3 separate regions of the Homo sapiens genome follow, and all the other regions are linked to region 2. Evidence: promoter capture Hi-C in 16 types of primary human blood cells and fetal thymus (Javierre and others, 2016). All regions are on one chromosome and are shown on one strand. Each heading gives the region's core, a stretch centred on a gene start or on the middle of the fragment in contact. The rest is flanking DNA. Distances are from core to core; before and after follow the strand shown. Region 1 overlaps TM4SF18-AS1 (TM4SF18 antisense RNA 1). Region 2 holds the start of GYG1 (glycogenin 1). Region 3 has its middle 3.5 kb from the start of TM4SF18-AS1.

Region 1 (2,915 bases), core at 124-2,623, 310 kb after region 2:
CCGGGCATGGTGCCACATGCCTGTAATCCCAGCTACCTCGGAAGGCTGAGGCACGAGAATTGCTTAAACCCAGGAGGCAGAGGTTGCAATGAGCTGAGATTGCACCACTGCACTCCAGCCTGGGTGACAGAGTATGACTCTGCCAAAAAAAAAAAAAAAAAAAAGAGTAGAAGGAATTATAGCCACAGAATTTTCCAGGGCAATTCCAGAGGAGACCCAACAACTGTTAGGGACTATGCCCCTATTGTTAAAATGTCTATATAACCTCTGAGGCTGATGACTTTGAGAACACCTACACTGACTTGAAAATTCACATTCTGGTGTGTTTCTTTCTTTCTTTGAGACAGTGTTAGTTTTACTCTGTCACTTAGGCGAGAGTGCAGTGGTGCGATCATGACTCATTGCAGCCTTGAACTCCTGGGTTCAAGCAATCCTCCCACCTCAGCCTCCCAAGTAGCTGAGAATACAAACATGCACCACCACACCCGGTTAACTTTTCAAATTTTTTTTATAGAGACAAGGTCTTGCTGTGTCGCCCAGGCTGGTCGAGAACTCCTCACCTCAAGTGAACCTCCTGCCTTGGCCTCTCAAAGTGCTGAGTGTGCTTCTACTGAAAACATTTACAGTATGTCATAATCACAACTTTTTAGCATACTGTTAGCTAAAAAATAAAATATAGGCTGACTGCAAAAATTTACTTGCAATTCATCGTTTGGACCTCACAATAACTTTTCTCCATTGAAGCAATGTTGCAAGTGGTTGGTAGATTTCATTTTTGCCTTCCCAATGCCTTTGTAAACCCAAATGTAGACAAAATAGCCAAGGATAATTGCTACTAAAAAATATCCATTTAAAATGAATCCATTGGAAACTGGAAACAAACCAAAATATTGTATTAGGATTTTATCATGAGAAATGAAACCAATCAAGAAAATAAGCTTATTTTATCTTATATTATGTTAAACCCTACTGTGTAAAATTTATTAAAAATGGCACTTATTGTGGCTCAAACCAATATTTAAAACAAATTTGATTACATTTGTAAGTCTTTACCAAATCTTAGAATGAACCAGGAATAAATCAAGTGTTTGGATTTGAATGTTACGATTTTTGTTGACAAAGCTGTAAGAGGGGCACAATATCAAGTCCTTTATTTCACTGTTGATTTTTGCAGTACCTTCACAAATAGGGTTATTTTGCCTAAATATTAGAGGGCACTTCACTTTTTCGAAGGGCATCTCTTAATCTATGCTATTCAAACCATTCTTTTGAGACACATAACCTATCATTACCCCCTTTGCTTTTCTTCAAACATTTACTAGATTCTTATTTGTCAAATCTTTATGTGTGATTTAAGTAGTTCCTCATCACATCTAATCACTTAAATCCTGCTATTTGCATTTAATTGGCATTCTGTTTGCTTCATGAGAGTAACAAATATACTGACACAATAAATATGGAAATATATTTGTATCACATGGGAAGAAATGTTTAAATGGAGACTAATATCATAAGTGGTCACTTCTAAGAAACACTCCATTCTCATGTAATTATATTTATAGTAAAAATCATAGAAGACAATGCAGATACAAATCTGACAACTAAGAAAATTGTAAAAATTATGGAATAGTTTTAAAACTTTTTCCTTGAATGTTGGCTCTTTAAACAAAGAAGCCTTAATCAGAGAAATTTACGCATAAGCATGTGATTCTGAATGAGCCTTTTCAAGGACTTTATGTATGAGTATTTGACTTTTGAGGTTAATAGAATCAATTCTTTAATATGGGTTGAGAAATAAAAATAAAGTCCTAAGCTTCTCCAACTGACTGAACACACCATCTCTTGGCCCAGGGGACTCCAGAGAAACCTTAGAAACTGAGTTCCTGGCCATGATGGGCTAGCAGGTCGAACATGCCTCAGTATGCCCCATTCCTTCTAACCTTTAACCAGAATTCTTTCCTAAGGCGTAAGTAAGCAGAAACCAGCTCTGGAAAATGAGAAATGGATGACTCATTACTTTGTCAACTTTAGCCAGTCCTCTGAGGCTGCCACAGGACTCCCTTTCCCACATTGCAGTTTCAACATGACAGCTCACCAGTTAAACCATAAATCCCTTCCTGATAAGAGACCAACAACCATGAAGTGGTTCTGGCCAATCTATGCAGGGTGCACAGCCAGGGCATTTGTGTCCTCCCCTTCATCTTTTGACATTAGGGGGCTGAAAACTCCACTCTCAGATCATGCTAATGCCACAATTTTTTGTACAGGGAATTCATGAAGAGGCATAAAGCTCAATTGTGAAGCACATGTTTCTCCTTTAATAAATATTCATGACTCCTCCTACAGCCTAATAAAAAGGTATTTTCAGCCACTCTGCTCAGCATAAATTCCCGTTTCTTTCAGCACTACCTTGAAGTGCCTGTTTCTGGCTTCTGGCCAGAGGTTACACTTCCCAGCGTGTCAGAATGGCCACCCTGCAGGTTGCAGCCTTTTGTGAGAAATAAAGCTGTCCTTTCCAAATGTATGAACCTTGTGATTCTTCAGCTGACAGGGTAATTCATCTGAAAAACGTAGTTTTTCTTCTTGGAAGTGGACTTCCAATATCATGATGCTAAAAACATGTCATACTGTAATAAGAGCTGTTTTGTACTTTTACAGAAGGAATTTTTAAAAATTTATTTTTAGTTTTTGTGGGTACATAGTAGGTGTATATATTTGTGGGGTACATGAGATATTTTGACACAAGTATGCAATGCATAATAATCACATTAGGGTAAATGAGGTATCCATTACCTCAAGCATTTATCTTTTGTGTTATAAACAATCCAGTTGTACTCTTTTCATTATTTTAACATGTACAATTAAATTATTACTGACTATAGTCACCCTGTTGTGCTATCAAATAGTAGGTCTTA
Region 2 (3,120 bases), core at 441-2,940:
CCTACAACGGAAGCACATAATGCCAAGTAACTGGGAGGGCCTCCCATGTGATCAGCGGTCTCTAGGCCATGGTCAAGACTAGGAAGGACTCAAGAGAGGCTCCTGGAAGGTGATATTTAAAATACTGATTTTAAGGTTCTACCCTTAAGATTCTTTTTGTTTTGTAACCTGTTTTTCTTCAAATAATATATTTTGAACAGCTTTTTATATTAAAAATATATAATGATTATGCCTACAGAGTATTTCATTACCTCAAGAGTATATGACGCGACTTCAAAAAGTCCATAGAATATACATATTATAAAAAAAAAATGCATGGATTTCAAAATTATTTTGCACCAAAATAAACCTACCCTTAAGATTCTGATTCAGGAGGTCTGGGCTTAGGCCCAAAAATCTACGCTTTAACCAGTGCCCCCAAGTGATTCTGATGTAGGAGATCCACACCCACACACGAGGAAACAGTGATATAACTGGTTTGAGGACAGCAGTACCACCTTTGCAAATAAATCACTTATTCTTAAGCATCTGTTTTGCTTTTTGAACTGATGTCAACTTCCTGATTGGTTTCCAAATGGCTTTGCAGTACTCATTCAACATTTACCGAGCAATTTCAGTTTTCAGTTTGCAGAGAACTGAACTACCCGAGGCTTGTTCTGTGTTTGGACTGGGGATGGGGAGCAGAGAAGGATGTGATCACATTAAAGCTATTTCTCAACTTCCTAGAAAAATGACAAATTGACCATTTCAAGATTTGTGAAACAGGTTAGCATTGGCTAACCACAGTTACAATAATTTACTAACCTTTTTGGAGCCCCTGTGTACAAGAGGCACCAAGACTTTCTGGGTGGGAAGGTTGATTCTGTAACCAAACTGCCAGGGTTTAAATCCTACTTTCTCCATTTATATTATATGACTATAGAAAAGTTAGCACTTTGGGAGGCTAAGGCTGGCAGATCACTTGAGGCCAGGAGTTCCAGACCAGGCTGGCCAACATGGTGAAACTCTGTCTCTACTAAAAATACAAGAAAAAAAAGAAAAGAAAAGTTAATTTAACTTTTCTGAGCTCAGTTTCCTCCTCGTCTGTAAAATGAATATGTAACACCTCACTGAGTTCGTACAAGGATTAAATGAAGCACTTAAATGCCTAATTGATGCAGATGGCTCCAAGAATTTAACATTTACGAAATATTCACTATATTTTTTAGGTTAAGGGTACAAAACCATTGTGAGTACACTAAGGAATGATTATAGAGGCTGATCGAAATTCTGCAAAAAAAGCGTAAATTTTACGTTTCATTCAAGCAGTTCAGACTCACGATTTTAACTAGAGTAATCTGGGGTTTGTTTGCTTGTTTTTTAAGGTTCCCTAACCCTTGGCTTCTTGGGGAGTTTGATGCCGCACTCAGCCCCAAAGTCCCCCTTAACTCCCAGGTTTAGCGGCGACAGGGGGCGCGCGGTTGACAAGGGCAGGCGCCCCGGGGAAGTAGGAGCAGGGGCGCCGGTGAGCCGCAGCCGCAGCGGCAGCCTAGCCCCGAGGGAGGGAGGAGGAGCCGAGGGAGACGCGGGACCCGGAGCCCCGCGGGCCACCGCCCCTGCCGGCCGCGCAGCTGGGAGGATGCGGACGGCAGCGAGAGCGTGCGCGGCCACGTGACGGCCGCTATAAGAGCGCACGGGGCAGACGCTCGGTTCCCCGCCGTGCCTCCTCGCTGGCCGCGCTCCCTCCCGGTGCCGGCTTCTCTGAGTCACCAACCTGAGGCTGCCCCGGCCGCCTGCGCACCCGGCAGCACCATGACAGGTACCGCCGCGCAGCCCGCCGCCGCCAGCCCCGGGACCCCGGCTTCCTGCCCAGCCGCCGCCTCCCTTCTCCTCCGCCCTCAGCCCCGGAGTGTTCCCGGCAGGACGAAACCGCCGCAAAGTTGCTGGCTGGCCGCAGCCGGGCGTGTTTCTGCCTGCGTCAGCTGCCGCCCCGCCGCCCCCCAGAGTGCAGGGATGGGGCAGCCGGGCAGAGCCCGGGCCCTCGGCCGGAGCTCTCGTTCCTGCTTCCGTCTCCTCGTCCTTCCTCTTGCTCTCACGGCGAAGGGCCGGCGGGCGGAGCAGCTGCGGCGGGGCCGTGTGGGGGTGGGGAGCCGGTTCCCCTGGGGGTTCCAGGCGGGAGTCCGGGGCGCAGCGGCATCGTGGGGAGCTGCCCCGGCCTCTGGCGGCCCGGAACCCCAGGAAGCAGGGGCTCCGAGGCGGGGATACTGCGGCCTCCGCCCGGCTCCTCCGCCGCCCGCCCCGGCCCCGGCCGCCACGCTGAGCCTATTTTTAGGCCTTTGGGGCCGGGTTGCGGGAAGCCGGGAGTCGGACTAGCGTCCCCGGGCGCGAGCCCCGTCTGGTGGGAGGGCGCCGGCTTTGGCTTCACTTGTTGCGAGGCGTCCGGGCCACTCCACGAGTTAGCCCCAGCACTGGGAAGCTCCGAGTTAGCTGGTCCTTCCGTGTCATTGAGGCTAATAGCCAGGGTTATTACAGCAGTTGAACTGCCACAAAGATTGCAGGTGTAACCCAGAGTTCAGCCGTCTTTAGGAAGATTAAACTCCTACCCAGCTGTCATTGGTCTTTCTTGGTCATTTGTAATGTTGGCTAGTCTGGTGTTCTAACCTGTGTTCTATCCCTTATTTAATCTTGGAAATCATCCATATCCTTGCTTCCAGAAATCCTTGAATCCTGCTCACCTTATTACATTTTTCTCCATGATCGCCTGGAACCTGGACTTCATTTGAGTTAGATGATCATTCATTTTGCCTAGCTTAAGTATTTTTGGTACAGATTGACAGCGATGTTACCCATGTTATAATGGGCTGAAGATAATAGAAGCAAGTACAGGCGGATGTTGATGGGCCTGTCAAGGGACAGGTGCCACTGTTCAGAGCTTTCCTAGAGTGTGAGTGACTGGGAAGCTGGTGGCCCTTCGGGGGTGGGGAACTGGTCTTCCTACAACTTAGTAGTTGGCCTGCCGTGGGAGAGGGCCTAATAAAATGTGTGAAGATGGCTCTCAGGTCAGCAGCCGAGGGATGCGCTGGCCCACTAGGCAACCCACAACTTCCTCTCATGTCTCGGTGGAATTTCTACTGCTTCCAG
Region 3 (3,186 bases), core at 603-3,102, 290 kb after region 2:
CATAATCATTCTGACCCAGAGTCCTGTTATTTGTAATATAAGGGTAATAATAATTAAAGTTCATGGCTCCTGCGAGGACCTGGCCTCTACTTTGACACAGAGCAGGCACATGGAAAAAGTTAGCTCTCAGCCCACTGAGAGCTACAACGAAAATGGTAGAGCATGGTATTGGTAAATATTTGTTGTTTTGGTTCTTCTCAACAGGTGACTAGGAAAATTGGCTTCTATTTTTTTTTTCTTGTTGAAGGGTGAAGGGTCAAGCACTTTTTCCTAGGTCATGTTACATACTATTGTTTGTCAGGATGAAAATAATTGTTCCAGTCCTTTCTGTTCCTCCCTGAATAGCCCTCAGTAGATCAGCCTTTTGGTACAGCAGTGTTTAAAGTTGGTCACTATCATTTGATTATATTCTTGGTTACAGCTCAAGAACATAACTCACTTTATTTAAGTTTACTTAGCCAAACTTTGTTGAATTTAGCCTGAAGGTGTGAGGCTAAATACCTTGGAGGAAATTTAGATTCCTTCCTGGTTTTTCCATTCCAGAACTGTAAATAAGTTTAAGAAATAAATACAGCAAATAAAAATGTGCATAAGGGACTAGTGATAATAACATCTGTTTGTAAAAAACTCTGCTATATAGAAAATATTTTATAAATGAAAATTATTACCCTATGTAATTTTCCCAACAGTCTCTCCCTTACCCCTGCCCCTTCCTTACATCTGATTTGTAGATAAGAGACCAAAAACTCAAAAGGTCAAGTAACTTGCTGTAGAATGCACATTTCCAAATTGTAGTGCCAGTAGTCAGCTATAGATTACTGGATTCCAAATAAAATTTTCTGTTCTTTTCATACTACCTGTAATAGCAGTGGCTTTAATAGTTTAAGTGTGTAGACTTCTATATTACCTACAAATGCTCAGTTTTTCTCAGAGTATATGGCTCTAATTATATCTTCCAACAAAGCTGATAAATTAGATATAAATGATGTTGGGGCAAGATGGGGAGTTTAAAGACACCATGGAGGATGTCAGTCACTGTTAGATCCATTTCTATTCTTTGTATTACTTCTACCAATAACCACCATTTGTTGAAAGTCAGCTCTTCCTTAGCCCTTTTGTAAATATTAGCTCTAATTGTGCCACCAACTCTGAAAGGGAAGCTTATTAAGTTCTCTTTTATAGATAAGGAAACTGGAACTTGGAGATTTTAAACAACTAACCAAAACAACTAAATGTTATTGCCAGAATTTAAATCCAGGACTTAAAGCCTGGTGGATGCCCTACCATTAAACTCCTTGCCTTATAATCAAGGTTATTCTATGGGAAACTATATACTAGATTAGAAAAATTTGAATAAGTAGAGCAGCTAGCAGCTGGGGCAGAGAGAGTTCCACTTGGGCTGGAGCTCTGAGTCCTTCGCAGTTTAAGGCTATGCAAATTACAAGCTTTCGCAGTATGGGGTAGACTACATAAGACACTGGAGGCCTACAAAGCAAGGCACAGAAGGGAATAGTGGGAAGACACTGAACAGTAAGAAAGAGAAAAGCAGCCCCCCAACATCCAGGAGCTGTCCTGGTACTAGTGGCTAAGCTTTGCCCAACTAGGAGCTGGCCTGGCACTCACAGCTAGGCCCTGGTGTCCTCCTCCTTGGCATAAACAATCTCCCAGAACACCAACATCAGACAGCACCACTCTGTGACCCTAATGGAGCCAGAAGAAAAACAATACCACTCCAGAAAATGTCTGAATATTGTTGATGAAAAGAGTCAAACTCCGTAAAATATTTGAAGACATTTATTCTGAACCAAATATGAGTAACCATGGCCTGTGACACAACCCTTAGGAGGACCTGAGAACATGTGCCCAAGGTGGTTGGGGTGCAGCTTGGTTTTATACCATTTTACGGAGGCATGAGACATCAATCAAATACATTTAAGAAATACATTGGTTTGGTCAGAAAGGCGGGACAATGCCGAGTGGGGGCTTCCAGGCTATAAGTAAATTTAAACATTTTCTGGTTGACAATTGGTTGAATTTGTATAAAGACCTTGGATCAACAGAAAGGCAGGTCTGGGTTAAGATAAAGAATTGTGGAGACCCAAGTTATTTACAGAGGAAGCTTTTAGGTAGTAGGCTTCAGAAACAATAGGTTGTAAAAATGTTTCTTATCAGACTTAAAGTCTGTGTTGGTGTTAATGTTGAGAGGTGTAATGAGGCATGTCCAACCCCCGCTGCCCTTCAAGGCCTGAAACAGTCTCCAGGTAAAATTTTAAAAGAGCCTTGGCTGAGGAGGAAGTCCTTTCAGATGGTTGGGGGACCTTAGAATTTTATTTTTGGTTTACAGTATACATGAGAAACATGAACATTCTCCAAATCTCAAAAATAACCACACATTCCCTGACTATATTTTATGGCTCTAGCTTTGTTTTACTCTTTACCAATTATAGCTTTAGCTTTATTTCATTCTTCTTTTCTTATAGATTACATTTATTAAGATACCCAATCATAAATTTCCCCCACTTTCTCACTGCCTTTGATCCAGAGCAAAGCCCTGCTTCCTTAAACATCCCCCACAAATCACCTAACACAAACCCCAATCATACAATAAGTTCTTTTTAACACTGCTTTTTTTTTCTGAGATACCCCAAGGTTCTGTATCATGTATGTTCTCTCTCAATGCGTTAAGCAACAAACACAACTTGTTCATCTACAGATGTGTTCCTGTGGTTTAGTTGGAGTGCACTGATACTAAAGTCCATGATGTAGGTCAGGGAATCTGTTTCATGGCTTAAAATAGTGCCAACATGACAAAAACTCAGAAATGTGTGTCTCTGGCTTGAACCTCTCTGCCTAACAGTATATACAATAATCTATGCCACATTTCCACTTAGATGGTTAATATAGCAACTTCTTAAATGTTTATGCACAGAAAAATCATCTGGAGATTTTTTTAAAAGGAAAAATCTGTATTCTATAAGTCTGGGTGGGTCTGAAATTCTGCATTTCCTCACTGGCTCGCAGATGATGCCAGTGCTGCAGGTCCATGAACCACACTTTGAGAAGCAAGAGTCTAATGAACTCGTCAAATTCAACATGCCCAAATACCAACCCCTAAGACTTCCAGTTTCAGCTCCAGCATGTAAAGAGCATGGAAGTCATAATCCTTACAACAAGAGAAACTGGACA

The links. Contacts are between HindIII fragments. The CHiCAGO score rates a contact against its expected background, and 5 or more counts as called.
Region 1: a fragment that was not itself captured here is called in contact with the fragment with the promoter of GYG1 in region 2 in 1 of 17 cell types (M2 macrophages); the score reaches 6.6 in M2 macrophages.
Region 3: a fragment that was not itself captured here is called in contact with the fragment with the promoter of GYG1 in region 2 in 3 of 17 cell types (M1 macrophages, naive CD8 T cells and total CD8 T cells); the score reaches 6.3 in M1 macrophages.

The regions. Positions count from the first base shown.
Region 1 is chr3:149,298,283-149,301,197 of GRCh38, forward strand. All of the region lies in intron 1 of TM4SF18-AS1 (TM4SF18 antisense RNA 1), which reads left to right. Among named protein-coding and RNA genes, the nearest start is that of TM4SF18-AS1, 15 kb to the left of the region's middle. The HindIII fragment of the contact is 875 bases long and covers 937-1,811 here.
Region 2 is chr3:148,989,850-148,992,969 of GRCh38, forward strand. It overlaps GYG1 (glycogenin 1), which reads left to right and starts at 1,691. Exons shown (of 8, transcript NM_004130.4): 1 at 1,691-1,798. The coding sequence starts at 1,792. RefSeq lists silencers at 1,330-2,379, 2,413-2,707. The HindIII fragment of the contact is 9,660 bases long and covers 1-3,120 here.
Region 3 is chr3:149,279,721-149,282,906 of GRCh38, forward strand. No RefSeq gene overlaps it. Among named protein-coding and RNA genes, the nearest start is that of TM4SF18-AS1, 3.5 kb to the right of the region's middle. The HindIII fragment of the contact is 529 bases long and covers 1,589-2,117 here.